Linked DNA regions of Homo sapiens: region 2 is linked to region 1. The links are contacts of gene promoters, found by promoter capture Hi-C in blood cells and fetal thymus (Javierre and others, 2016). All regions are on one chromosome and are shown on one strand. Each heading gives the region's core, a stretch centred on a gene start or on the middle of the fragment in contact. The rest is flanking DNA. Distances are from core to core; before and after follow the strand shown. Region 1 holds the start of TRIM69 (tripartite motif containing 69). Region 2 overlaps SORD (sorbitol dehydrogenase).

Evidence for each region. Contacts are between HindIII fragments. The CHiCAGO score rates a contact against its expected background, and 5 or more counts as called.
Region 2: a fragment that was not itself captured here is called in contact with the fragment with the promoter of TRIM69 in region 1 in 1 of 17 cell types (fetal thymus); the score reaches 5.2 in fetal thymus.

Annotation. Positions count from the first base shown.
Region 1 is chr15:44,732,215-44,739,322 of GRCh38, reverse strand. It overlaps TRIM69 (tripartite motif containing 69), which reads right to left and starts at 2,795. Exons shown (of 7, transcript NM_182985.5): 1 at 2,613-2,795. The coding sequence starts at 2,618. It also overlaps the pseudogene RNF4BP. The HindIII fragment of the contact is 591 bases long and covers 2,625-3,215 here.
Region 2 is chr15:45,024,901-45,032,008 of GRCh38, reverse strand. The region is part of intron 1 of SORD (sorbitol dehydrogenase); the gene reads right to left. Among named protein-coding and RNA genes, the nearest start is that of SORD, 5.3 kb to the right of the region's middle. RefSeq lists an enhancer at 444-738 and a silencer at 6,013-6,301. The HindIII fragment of the contact is 1,522 bases long and covers 2,665-4,186 here.

The sequences.
Region 1 (7,108 bases), core at 1,546-4,045:
CAGAAATCACCCGTCTTCTGCATCGCTCACGCTGGGAGCTGTAGACCAGAGCTGTTCCTATTCAGCCATCTTGGCTGCCCCCTCCGTGTGTTTTTAAAGTATGTTTAAAATATATAGCGGTTACCAAGGCAGGGCAAAGAGGAACGGGAAGTGACTGATAATGGGTATGGAATTTCTTTTGGGGATAATGAAAATGTTCTGGAATTAGATAGTGGTGATAATTGTACAACTTTGTGAATATGCTATAAATCACTGAATTGTAAACTTCAAAAGGGTGAGTTATATGATATGAAAATATATTTAATGTTATTAATTATTGATATTATATGATTGACTGGTTTTATATGGTTAATTCATCTTGCTAGCTGAGGGTTTGCCAATTCCCCTGACTTTCAATAATATATCCTTTTCTGTAAAACAAGGGATTAATTATATTAGCTAATATTTACTGAGCATTCACTGTGGAAGAGGATTTACATACATTATTTCATTTAATCTCAGAACAACCCTATGAAATACGTATTATTACTACATATTTTAAGGAAACTGAAGCTCAGATTGCTTCAAGTATCTTCCCAGAGTCACAATTATTAAGTAGTGGGTCTCAGATTTGAACTCTTTATTTGACCCCAAAGCCTATTAACCACTGAGTCAGCAGAGAGCCCATCAATATGTTTTGTGGAATTGAATTTATTAAATGGATCAAATTTGTGAAGCAAAATATCTGCAATAACTTCCTACTGCTCTAGAGGGAGCTATAGAATTGGAAACCAAATGAGAGTCTAAAATTTCTGGACCTGGAAATCTTTTAGGAAACACATCTACTGCCAGCCCCTTTTAGGGGAAGAAGTCTAACCTTAAGGCAGAGAGAGAGAAACTCGAGTCAGGAATTGATATTCATCCTTATAAAGCCCTGGCTGGCAGGAATCACTTTATAAGAAAGCACATCAGCAGGTCACGATGGCCCAGGCCTGTAATCTTAGCCTCACTTTGGGAGGCTGAGGCAGGAGGATCACCTGAGGTCAGGAGTTGGAGACAAGCCTGGGTAACATGGTGAGACCTCATCTCTACTAAAAAAAAAAATAATAATACAAAAATTAGCCAGGCGTGGTGGTGCGTCCCTGCAGTCCCAGCTATTTGGGATGCTGAGGCATGAGAATCACTTGAACCCTGGAAGCGGAGGTTGCAGTGAGCTGAGATGGTGCCACTGCACTCCAGCCTGAGCAAGAGAGTGAGACTCTGTCCTAAAAAAAAAAAAAAAAAAAAAAGAAAGAAAGAAAGTATGTATCTTCCTCCTTCAGTTCACTGTGCACATTCTCAAAGAGCAGAGAAAAGGCAAAGAGCTATGAAGTCCATGGAAGCTTGCATAAGAAATCCTTAATTTTTACCAGAGATTTTTTTTTCCTGAGAAGTTTTGTGTTGTAAATTTTTGAAATCATAGTTAAGATATCTAAGGAGAGTTCATTTGTTGCTTTTCAACCTTTATTCCTTCAAAGTAATTTTTAAACTTTGATGGGCAGTTTTTATGAAGAATTAACTTTGAGAGCAGAAAAATACAGTTCATCCACAGAGACAAACTATATAGCACAGCCAGCTTAAACCTAAGAGCAAGACACACTCCTGCTTCACGAGTCAAGCCATTTGCACATAAGAAGGCAAGATTCTGAACTTTCTGACTTCTTGGAGCTTCCCAGAGTTGAAAGAAATTTTAAGCCATTTAATTCACTCCTTTCCAACCTCTGCCTGAACATCTGAAGTAATGGGAAACTCACTATCACACAAACAATTTTTTTACTATTATGGAAAAGTGTCTATTTTCACTGACTTGGCCTTAAAGTAATAAGAATATAGTAGGTTTAGGCAATAGTGTTTATTTTTGCCCTAGAAATTATAAACAAAATGCTTATAGCCCTGTTTGCTTCAATAGCTAAGCACAGAGATGAGTAGCAGCAAACCTAAAGGTCCTATGATAGAGGAAATTAGAAACTGATCTTAATGATTAATATAATGAAATTAAACTTTATAAGAAGTGGAAACTAGTGGAAATGGATGATAACTCAGGATTCAAGGGCCCCTGAAAAACCCTTAGTGAGTTTTTCAAGCTTTCATGTAGTAAATAACCATTTTCTTTTGTTTGACAATCAGGAAAACACTAAGTTCAGAAGAACATAACTTCCTTTATTTTAGCTCTGAAGAGGTCTTAAAGGAAGAATTCAATTAAAAATGTTTACTATCTAAGTATCAACTCTGCCTTAAATATAAAATAATCAAATGTGAAGGTATTGTAAGCAAACCAAGTTATACATAATAATTTTTAAATCTAAAATAAAATGATTACATTGATAATGAAAGTAAATTGTATATAGTATATAGTTTATTTTTTCTCAAAATGTTTTGGTGGATTTCATTACTTTCCTACCAGCTTCTCTAGTATAAATTATCAGTTATTCCAAGGCTTGGAGAGAGTATAGTAGCTACCAGCTGTCACAAGTTAAATACTTCCCTTCATGAATTTCCTTTTGTGCTCCTAAATCCATATCCTCTTCTATGATCCTGTTTTCCACACTATTCCTAGAAGCCCTGCTAAGTTAAAAAAAAAAAGGGTCACTCACCTCCATGAAGCTTCAGCCCACCAAGGGGCAGAGGCAGGCACTTGAATCAGAGCTCAGCAGGCCCAGGATGGCTGCAGACTGGGAGTCAGGGACCTTTTAGTTTTCAAGGAATGGGCTCAGAGCATGATGGAAGAAAGAAAAGTTCAGGAGCTGGAGAGAAGCAGCAAGGCCAGAGTGAGGTCTGGCAGATTCCGTGACAGTTTGTCAGTTAACTTTGATCATCATTTGCTTAAGAGAAAGAGAAACCCTCATTAGAATACCCTACCTGCCCAACTTTTCTTTTGTAGGAGACAAGGGCAGCTCATTTAGATTCGAGTTAGTGGTCTAATCTTAAGGTTCATAGCTCCCCATTTCTGGACTAAGGATGCTCTATGAAAGAGGAAATACACGTCAGCAGCAGCCTATATTAAGCCTAACTCATGAAAAATAACCACCTCACCCCTGTTCATGATCCCATCACACCATCAAGACACCAGCTGAGTGGCTTTAATAGAGAGCTAGTTCACCTCTCATATTCCAATGAAGCAGCCCTGATTTTATCTCTGAGACAGTAACACAGGCCTGGGAAACACCAGGCCCTAAGAAAGCAGGATGAAAAAAGCTTCATTTCATACAGCTTTCTTCAGCAGTTTTAGCTCGCAGAGAGATGTACCAACACTGTGCTCCTGAGTGACTTATAAAGAGCCACCACAGAGCCAAACAGTTTTTCTTACAGTAGTTCCTCTAACTCAATATGATTTCTTGCACGTCTAGCTCCTGCCTAGCTGTCCAGACTTAATGACCACAGCTCTTTCCCCAGTGTTTGGGATCGCCCAAATATGTCACGCTTCTGCAGCTTTGTATATGTTGTCCCTTCGGATGGGAGTTTCCCTTCCCCCACACCCCCGTCATTATCTCTTTACTAAACTCTTCCCTAACCACCCCCTCATCCCCAAACCAAGCTTTACCCACTTCCCTGTCTCTTGTAGAAGATATTTTGCTGGCTCTATACCAGAGGTTACCAACCTCAGCCCTATTGATATTTTGGGCCTGCTAAGTCTTACGTTAGAGGGGCTGTCCTGTGAATTTTAGGATATTTAGCAGTGTCCCTGGCGTTTACACACTAGATGCCTGTAGCCACCCCCCCCCCACCAAACCCAGTCATAACAAAAATGTCTCCAGTCATTGCCAAATGTCTCCTGGGGGCAGGGGTTGGAATCACTCCCCAGTTGAGAAACACAGCTTTACTCCCTTCCTTCCTTCCTTCCTTCCTTCCTTCCTTCCTTCCTTCTTTCCTTCCTTCCTTCCTTCCTTCCTTCTTTCCTCTTTCTTTTTTTCTTTCTCTTTCTTTCTTTCTCTCTCTTTCTGTTTTCTTTCTCCCTTTCTTTCTCTCTCTGTTTCTTTCTCTTTCTTCCTTTCTTTTTCCTCTTTCTTTCTCTCTTGCTCTCTTTCTTTCTTTCTCCCTTTCTTTCTCTTTCTCTTTCTTTCCTTCTTTTCTTTTCTTTTTTCTTTTCTTTCTGACAGGGTCTCACTATGTTGCCTAGGCTGATCTCAAATTTCTGAGCTCAAGCTGTCCTCCCACCTCAGCCTCACAAAGTGCTAGGATTACAGGTGTGAGCAACACCACGCCTGGCCTAGTTTTACACATTTCTATAGCACCCTAGATCTTTGTACACGTGGCTTTAACAGAGTGTATTCTAATTGTTTGATTGCATGTCTGCCCCTCCACTAAGTTGTGAACAAACCACAGGATAGGTAGTACTGTATCTTGCTCACCTTGGCAATACATGGCATTTGTTAGATCAAAACCTTTGTCAGATAAATGTCTATGAAATGCTGGTGATCACTTAGTCAAAAAAGTAATTTTGTTTCATCTTGATTGTTTTTGTTGTTGGCTAAAACATTTGACAATGCTTAGTATAGCTGATTTTACTAAAGCCAGCGCCTGCACATTTTTGAACCTTTAGCCTAGGGGTAAGAGTACTGGCCTAGAAGATGGAAGCCTTGTCTCTCACCACCAGAGCACTGAATAGCCTTAGCTAAGACATTTAACTCCTATGGGTGTCAGTTCCTCCTTCTTTAAAATGTGAATTCCTAAGACCCCCTTCTGTCTCTAGAAGCCTGTGATTCCAAATCCTATGTAGCAAGAAGTCTCAATCTTCACAAAGAGTACTTCAAGTCTTTTTTTCACTATTTAAAAACAGTGTCCAGGCATGGTGGCTCATGCCTGTAATCTCAGCACTTTGGGGGGCCAAGGTGGGAGGATCACCTGAGCCCAGGAGTTCAAGACCAGCCTGGGCAAGATGGCGAGACCCTGTCCCTACAAAAAATTTAAAAATTAGCCAGGCATGTTGGCACGTGCCTGTGGTGCCAGCTACTCAGGAGGCTGAGGTGGGAGGATCATTTGCGCCCAGGAGGTCGAGGCTGCAGTAAGCCATGATCATATCCCTGCACTCCAGCATGGTTGACAGAGTAAGACCTTGTCTCAAAAAATAAAAATAAAAAATAAAAAAATTCCATTGCTGTAAACGAGACCCAGAGTGATGGTTAATTTTGTATGTCAACCTGACTAATATACCCAGTATAAAAGTTGCTTAAGCAAGAATGAAATTTATTTCTCTCTTAAGTAAAAGTCCAAACTTCTATAGTGGCTCTGGTTTGCAAAGTTGTCAGTCTCCCAAATTCCTTCTCTCTACTTTGTTAACACAGAACTCACAACATCCATAAATTTGGAGAGGAGACTTTATTTCTTATAAAGCGTTAAAGGCCTGCAAGGTGGCCATCCCACAGGCCAGGAAGTACAATCTCTGGCAAAGACCAGAGACAGGCACTTCAAAGGAGGAGCAGGGGTAGGAACTTGATGCTGAATAGGTTGGCTAAACATACATATTCAACAGGTTACAGGAGGAGCTATGAATAATTATGAAGGTCATCCTGACTCATGCTTATTGAACAAACATGCATGTAACATACAACCCATGTTCACTTTGAGGTGGAGACTTAACTCTTTTTGTTGTTGTTATTGTTTGTTTTTTGTTTTTCGCGACGGAGTCTTACTCTGTCACCCAGACTGGAGTGCAGTGGCGCCATCTCAGCTCACTGCAATCTCTGCCTCTGAGGTTCAAATGATTCTCCTTCCTCAGTCTCCCAAGTAGCTGGGATTACAGGCGTGCACCACCACACTCAGCTAATTTTGTATTTTTAGTAGAGACGGGGTTTTGCCATGTTGGCCAGGCTGGTCTCAAACTCCTGACCTCAAGTGATTCACCCACCTCAGCCTCCCAAAGTGCTGGGATTACAGGCGTGAGCCACCACGCCAGGCCTAAGGTGGAGACTTAACACTTAAATGCATAACAATTAGACCCTATAAGTCAAAATGCCTGTTCAGGACAGGAAGGAACAAGGGTGCTTAGCCTCTATAAACTGGCCAGAACCAGCCCATAGTCAGTGGTCTTCTTATCAAGAGAAAGTGGCTGGGTGCGGTGGCTCACGCCTGTAATCCCAGCCCTTTGGGGGGCCGAGGCAGGCAGGTCACAAGGTCAGGAGATGGAGACCATCATGGCTAACACGGTGAAACCCCATCTCTACTAAAAATACAAAAAAATTAGCGGGGCGTGGTGGTGGGTGCCTGTAGTCCCAGCTACTTGGGAGGCTGAGGCAGGAGAATGGCATGAACCCAGAAGACAGAGCTCACAGTGAGCCGAGATCGGGCCACTGCACTGCAGCCTGGGCGACAGAGCAAGACTCTGACTCAAAAAAAAAAAAAAAAAAAAATTGCTTATCTCAGCTGGTGCTTGTTTAGCTGCTAAACAAAAAGAAAAACTGACAGGGCAGAACTCCGTCTCAAAAAATAAATAAATAAATAAATAAATAGAAAATCTTGTGGCAGTTAGAACATAGTTTATTCTTTAAGTGTAGGAGTGCATGACATAACACTTGCCTGGCATGACCTTAGATCTTACGAATAATTTGTTATTGCCACAAAGGGTCTATTCTGTCAGCCTTATGATCTTTATTTTGACATTAATGCTGGTCAGTTGTTGTGTCTAAACCATAAAAGAGACGGAGATATAATGAAGCGTGTCTGACCTCCCATCCCGTCATGGCCAGGAACTCAGTTTTAAGGTTTTTCTGGGGTCACTTTGGTCAAGAGGGGTTCCATTCAGTCAATTAGGGGGCTTAGGATTTTAGTTTACAACTTACTTCACCATCTCTAGGGTGTTGTCTTTATTTATGTGGTCCAGAATGTCCACATGTGGCCAACTAAAAATTGATGACTATAAGAAAGGGAAAGTTGCTTTAAGGACGACCCCAGTATCTGGCACACTCTGGCAACTGAAGTCCAGAGCTGAAGCATAAAACCAAAGGAAACAAAAAGCAGTCTCAGAGCATATGAGAAATCAAAGAGTTTCTTATATACTGCAGATAGCAATTTTAAAAATCAGTATTTTTAAGCTCAGAGCATTGGATGCCAACAACCCATAGTTCCTGCACAAAGACATGGAAAAATCCAGCCA
Region 2 (7,108 bases), core at 2,176-4,675, 290 kb before region 1:
GCATGTGACAAAACTTTTTTCAGGGCTGAATAATATTCCACTATATATCTATATGCCACATTTAAAAAATGTTCATTACTTGAATAACATCTGGGTTGTTTCCACCAACAAAATGGAGTCACAATGATAAGTGACTCAGCTCACAGTGAAACTGCTGACTGCTCAAAGTGATAAGCATATGTATGTAGGACTGAGATGACAACACCTGCTGTGGCCAGGCAACCCCAAAACTTGATAAGAAAGGGAAGCCAAGGCCAGGCGGGATGGCTCACACCGGTGATCCCAGCACTTTGGGAGGCCGAGGCAGGTGGATTGCTTAAACTCAGAAGTTCCAGACCAGCCTGGGCAACATGGTGAAACCCTGTCACCAAAATTAATTTTATAAAATAAAATAAGAAAGTGAAGCCAAAAGATGGCTAAGTTATGACAATGGACATTCCTATGCAGGGTATAAAAACAGCAAAGAAAGTGACCATGGCCGAGAGCCTGTAGAAGCTCTGCCCGTGAGAACTCTGAGGCCTCCTCACGAACAGAGGCTGCCATAAGTTCTGCTGGGAGAAGAACAGCAACAACACTCCTCCCACTTTGTTGTTTCAAGGGAAATCCAAATCTGTTCATCAGTCAGCGTGCTGGTCTCTGGAGCTACTTGCCACGGTTCATTCCCTGTTGTTTTTTTTTTTTTGTCGTTGTTGTTGTTTTAAGAGATGGGTTCTCATTCTGTAGCCCAGGCTGGCACATTAATAGCTCACCACAATCTCGAACTCCTGGGCTCAAACGATCCTCCTACTTCAGCCTGCTGAGTAGCTGTGACTACAGGAGTGTGCTATCACACCCGGCTACTTTTTACATTTTTTGTAGAGACAAGGTCTTTCCCAGGCTGGTCTCAAACTCCTGGCCTCAAGTGATCCTCCCACCTCAGCTTCCCAAAGTGCTGAGATTACAGGTGTGAACCACCATGGCTGCCCCGACCTCCCCTATCACTGCCTGTGTGTGTTGAATATATTTGCATGATCGTTGGTATGTGAAAGCCTCACATTTAATTGGCCATTGAGTTATTGTGAAACCTCTGGGCTCCTGGTCGGAGTCAGCACAAGTAGGCTGGAACCTGACATGACAGCTGTTCAACAGGCAGTTGGTTACTGGGACTGGTGCTCAGGCATCACCTCCTGCAAGAAGCCTCCCCTGTCCTCACCAGGCTGGAGAGGTGACTCCTTTCTCTCCTTTGCACTTCTCCAGCACCTAGCATTGAATCCACACAGGATAGTTAAGGACTATTTAATTTTCATCAGGGATAAATATATTAAAATTTCCTCCTAATTCAAAGTGTATGAACATAACCATACATGATCTTATTAAATGGTTCTATATATGGAGCAAAAATTCTAAGTCTCTGAGCTTTGTCAGATGCTCTAGTCTGTTCGTGATCTTGATAAGTGCTCACTGTGTTCGGGTCTATGTAATTGAATATTTCTGTGTTTTTTAAAATTGTTGAGTTGAATATTACTTTGCAAAATTTGAATGTATTTTCCCTGGTAATTAATGTTCTTAGTGCAAACCTGATTTGGGGAAAACTGCCAGCTTCAACAGCCACACTAAAAGACTTCTAAGTTAGATGCTAATATTGTATCTACGTGTACATATTTCTCCTCCTTCTTAATTTCTGTTGTGCAGTTTTAAAGAGAAATTTCCCCTACATCCATAATTCTAGGGTCTCCCCTTAGAATAGGGCTGCTTTTATGGAATGGTAAAATCCTATTTGTGATATTGCTTGCTTCTTCTCCTGCTTTTGATAGCAAAAGGAGGTGGCCAAATGCCTAGGCAGATAGGGGTGGGTACCCAGTGAAATTCCACCTCCAAGTAGAAGACAGTTTAAAGCCGGAAAGCCAAGCTACAAGTTAAATCCTGGGACTGGATCAAGAACTTGTCTTCCTGTTTGGACGCTTTCCTCTGATTGATCCCCACCCTTCACCTATTTTACATATACCTAACCTTTCCTAAGTAGTTTTCTACACTGTTTTGCCCACCTTTGCATGGTGTCTTCACGTTAACCTTTTTTGCATACTCACAAACCCATCAATACGCACTTCCTATCCTGTGCCTATAAAGATCCCAGACTCAGTTGGTAGAGGGGGAAATGACCTGACTTCGGGGAGGAGACAACCTGACTTCTGGGAAGATGACCTGCCCTTCCCATCCCCTCTCCAGTTCCCTTCTCTGCTGAAAGCCATTTTCATTGCTCAGTAAAATTCTCCACCTTCACCATCCTTCAATCATCTGCGTGACCTCATTCTTCTTGGACACTGGACAAGAGCTCAGGGCCCACCAAGTACAGGTACCCAGAAAAGGCTGTCAAACTGGCCCTTTGCCCCTCACCAGTGGCATGCCCCGTGCAGCGAGGCAAGGGGCCAACTGAGCTGCTAACATGCCACCATCTGCAGACGGTGGAAATAAAGGAGCACTGTAACAGCCCCTCTGGGGCTTCAGGGTCATGGACACCCTTACCTGGGTGCTGCTGCATTCCCCTCAAGGAGCTTGCTCCTGTGTCAGTGCCTGGAGCAGCTGGCTGGATCCCGCACTCACTCATTCATGTGCTCCCTCCCACAAGGGGTTGAGCACGGTAGGCCCAGTACTCCACAGGTCTGGCGAAGGGGCCAAGAAAAAGCTTGCATCACTTTGAGAGGAAAATGCTACCTTTGTGCCTCATGGTCTTTCACAGACAAAGGCATTGCCTTTCCAGAGCTGTTGGTGGAGGTGGGAGTGTTTACTGGATTTAATTTCCTGTTTTGAATTTGAAATGGTATGTCCAGTTTGGGTTTTGTTTTGTTGTTAAAACATAATTAAGATAAAAGCAAGAAAGATGGTTCTTTGGGCTACTTACTGCTACCCAATTTCTCTTTTTCTGGAGGATTTTCACATTCTCTTTTCACTCTCAAGTGTCTCTGACTTGTAAGGGTTAAGTAGCCTGCATCTCATCACTATCAGGGTAATCTGGTTTAATCCAGCTCCTGCTTCATGACTATCAGCCCCTTTAATCTGATCACATAGAAGCAGCTGGCTCAGAGAAACAGACATGATGCACAGGACCATCTGAGCTGCCCATGTTCATGCCCTCTCATTATACCATCCGCTTCTCACCCCAAAATCTTAACAGTAAAGTATAGACATTTTGAATGTGCTGTATTACAGATATAGATTTATCTTATTTTTAAAAATAAATAAGAGTATTTAAAAATGCTTAGGTCAAAGCAATTCTTTTGACCTAAGGTATAATACGTTGCCTCAATGGACAAAAACTCAAGAAATATCTTCATGGACCTCCGAGTAATGTTTAAACTTGATGCCAATATATTAATTTTTCTGCCCTTTATAATTAAACAACATTAACCCATCATTCTGAAATTATTATTTTTCCCTTTAATTTATTGTCTCCTCATATAGCTGATCATAACAAAAATCTGACTACATCCCCTCCATGGTGTTGTTTCCTGGAAATGGAGCCTGTTTTGTTCCTATACTTCTCCCTGTTCAGATGCTCCTGCCTGAAGGAAGAGCCAGCTTTCAGGAAGAAGGGAGATAAAGTGCACTCAGAGGGTGATTGATGAACTGATTTGTAATGCAATGTACAGAAATTGAGAGGAGCATTTAGAAATGTTTATATAATTTTTTTGTTTGTTTTTGTTTTGAGATAGAGTCTTGTTCTGTCACCCACGCTGCAGTGCAGTGGCATGATCTTGGCTCACTGCAACCTCTGCCTCCCCATTCAAGTGATTCTCGTGCCTCAGCCTCCTGAGTAGCTGGGATTACAGGTTGTGCACCACCACACCCAGTTAATTTTTGTATTTTTAGTAGAGACAGGATTTTTGCCATGTTGGCCAGGCTGGTCTCAAACTCCTGGCCTCAAGTGATCTGCCCGCCTTGGCCTCCCAAAGTGCTGGGGTTACAGGCATGAGCCACCGTGCCTGGCTGTTTATAGCATTTTGACGTGACACAGCATTCAAATATATTGATGCAAACATATCAGTCCATGGCCGACTGGAAAAAGTAAAATTGGCCCTTCATTGTGGACAGTTTGTAAAGCCCTGTATTAAAGTTCCCAGCACATGCCTGGAATGCAGTAGGCAGTCAATATATTAATTCCCCGCATTTCCTTACCATTCGAGTGAACCCTACATTGTAAAAACAAGCTTCCCACCACCCCCACCACCAAACATAGCTTCTATGGGGTAAAAACTAATTTGACTATTTTATATTCTAACTTCATGAATCCATAATTCATTTCCTAATTAAAAGCTTCTGGGTCTCAATAGACTGATCAAAGGGGCATACAGTAATTAAACTGGTAAATACAGTGGAAAGCAAGATTATTGCCTGGGCCCACATTATAATAATTTGGTTAGGAAAACTGTTCATGTGTTTGAAGGCCCTGGTCTCCATCCACCTCTTTTTAAGCTGATATGGTTTAAGTGTCCGTCCTCAGGGGCTCTGGCTTCCTGCTTATCTCCACAGTTAGCACATACCATTAACAGTGTGCTAAATGCTGTGCTAGGCCTTTCACACGCACAATTGGTTCCACTGAATCCTCATACAACCAAAGATGAATACTACCATTATCCCCATTTCACGGGGAAGTTGAAGTGGAAAATAATTTGTTGAGTCATACAACTAGCAGCAGTAGAAGGGGGACTAAACCCCACTCTGGCTCCCCAGCCTGGTTTGGGAACTTCGTACTATTTCCATTTAGAGAGAACCCCAGCAAGCTGACACTGTTTGCTTCTTTATACATCAACTTGGTCATCAGTCCCTTTTCCTCCCTCCAACTCTCAAACTTTCTCTATTCAAAATGAAGGGAAAAGCGAAAATCCTTAAGTCTCAGATTGTTGTTTCGTTTTGTTCTCCTAACTATAAAAGAAAACCACTGGTCTTAGTGTGTGTCTGACTTACCACCCAATTTATAAATGCTCCTCCTTGCTGTGGTCAAGGTGATCATTAACTAATTAGTAGGTGAGGAGTTTAATTTTTTGTTCCGTGCAGCCATACATCAAGAAAGAAGAGAATGGTGCAGTCTCCTTAGGCAGTAGGGAGGCTGTGTGGTAGGTTTCCTTCCTGCCAGTTAAAGGACAAGTAAAGTGGACTAAGGTCGCATTCCCCCACAGAACCACTGCCCCAGACGCTGGCTGGTTCCTGGCCTTATCTCAAGTAGGATGGCAGCAGTGGGAAAGGTTGAGACATTGCTTCCTGCTTCAGAATGCTTTGGAAACCTGCTTCAGATTTTAGGAATGATTTATACACTTTTTGGAAAGCAAATAATGATGTAAGTTAAATGATACACTTTTCCCTTGAAAATTTATACATTTTTTGAAAAGATCTTAGGAATGAGAGTTTCCCCAAACAACTCCCTTCATAGGAGTTCCTGAGGCACTGAACCATTTTATCAGTAGACCCTGCCCCCCTGTATACCTAAATCGGCCACAGTTTGCTGGGCTGCAGTTCCCCAGCCAGCCAGAAATGGAAGGGTTTTTAATCTGTGGCTGGTGGTCTTACATCAAAAGAAGAAAACAGTCAAATTCTCCCCACTTCCTCTTATCTTTTTTGTAGTTCATATCCAACCAAGGCTTTTTTCCCCCCAAAATGCATTTGCTGACAATTTATTAAGCCCAGGAAATTCTGGGTTTCATTTTGGTCCTCTTGCAGAGAGGAAAATGGGTGGTTCCCCTCAAAGCTTCCCCAGGATTGTTCCTCCTAGTTGCTATCTCTGGTTTACTACTGACCCCAAACCCAAGCCACTGAGCCTATTTGTCTTAAGGAAAAGATGGAGGAGCAGTGATACCACACTCGGGGTCTGGGTTGGGCACTGTGGAGGTGCTGGTGGAAGACCATGCCTGAGAAGGAGTGGCGAGGGCCCAGAAGGTCTGTGTTGAGCTGCAGGTGCACCTGAGGCAGCACAGTGGGTCTCCTCTGCTGACAACTCTTTCTGCCCTTTCCCCTCCAGTGTTGGGGCTCTCTCCAGGGTAATGTCCTCCTCTTCTTTCCTTCTCACTCTACATGGTTCACTCAGCCCAGGCAAGCTCAGCCATCCATAATTCCCCATAGGGCACTATTTGGGACAGGACAACTCTTTGTTGTGCAAGATAGCACTATGAACTGAATAAAGTCCGCAGTAGTGCTCCTCAGTCATCGTGACAACCAAGCCTCCCTGACACATTTCCAAATGTCTCCTGGGTGGCGGGGCAGTGCAGTACTGCTCAGTAGAGGAGCAAAGGACTCCTGAGTTTACATTTCCACCCCTGATAGTATCCCTGCACTCCAGACCCCTGCACCCAAGGAAATTTCTCAAAGGCACCTTGTGTCCTGTCCCAGAGACATCTTTTTTTTTTTTTTTTTTTTGACATAGTTTTGCTGTCATTCAGGCTGGAGTGCAGTGGTACGATCTCAGTTCATTGCAATCTCTGACTCCCAGACTCAAGCGATTCTCAGCTTCCCAAGTAGCTGGGATTACAGGCATGTGGCACCACACCCAGCTAATTTTTGTATTTATAGTAGAGACAGTTTCACCGTGTTGGCCAGGTTGGTCTCAAACTCCAGACCTCAAGCGATCTGCCTACCTTGGCCTTTCAAAGTGCTGGGATTACAGGCATCAGCCACCACACCTGGCCTCCAGAGACATCTTAAACTCAACTTTTCAAACCTGATCTCATCATTTTAATCTACTCTGACTAGTAAATGACGCTACCACTTCCCATTCTCAAACTGAGCCTAGGTGTTTTCCTAAATCCTCCTCTGAACTCTTTTACCCAGCTAGTGTTCCAGCACACAACCAAAGGTGAAATTCTCTAGCCCATCATATTTTCTAGATACTTCAGGTTACAGCCACCCCAACCTAGCCCCTAATCCAGTCAGAGAGTGGGTTCTAATGCAAAGCTGATGAGATCAAGGTTAGTTCGCTGCTGCTCTAATCTTCAAAGCTTTGTCTACGGAACCATAGTAGAGGTAGTCTGCCTGAGCAGTGGAAGACCATGAGTTTGAGGTAAGATGAAGGAGAACTTAACTGTGTTTCTGCACCTTAGGTGCATGACTTTTAAGCAGGCTCTGAGCAGATAGAGGGCCAAGG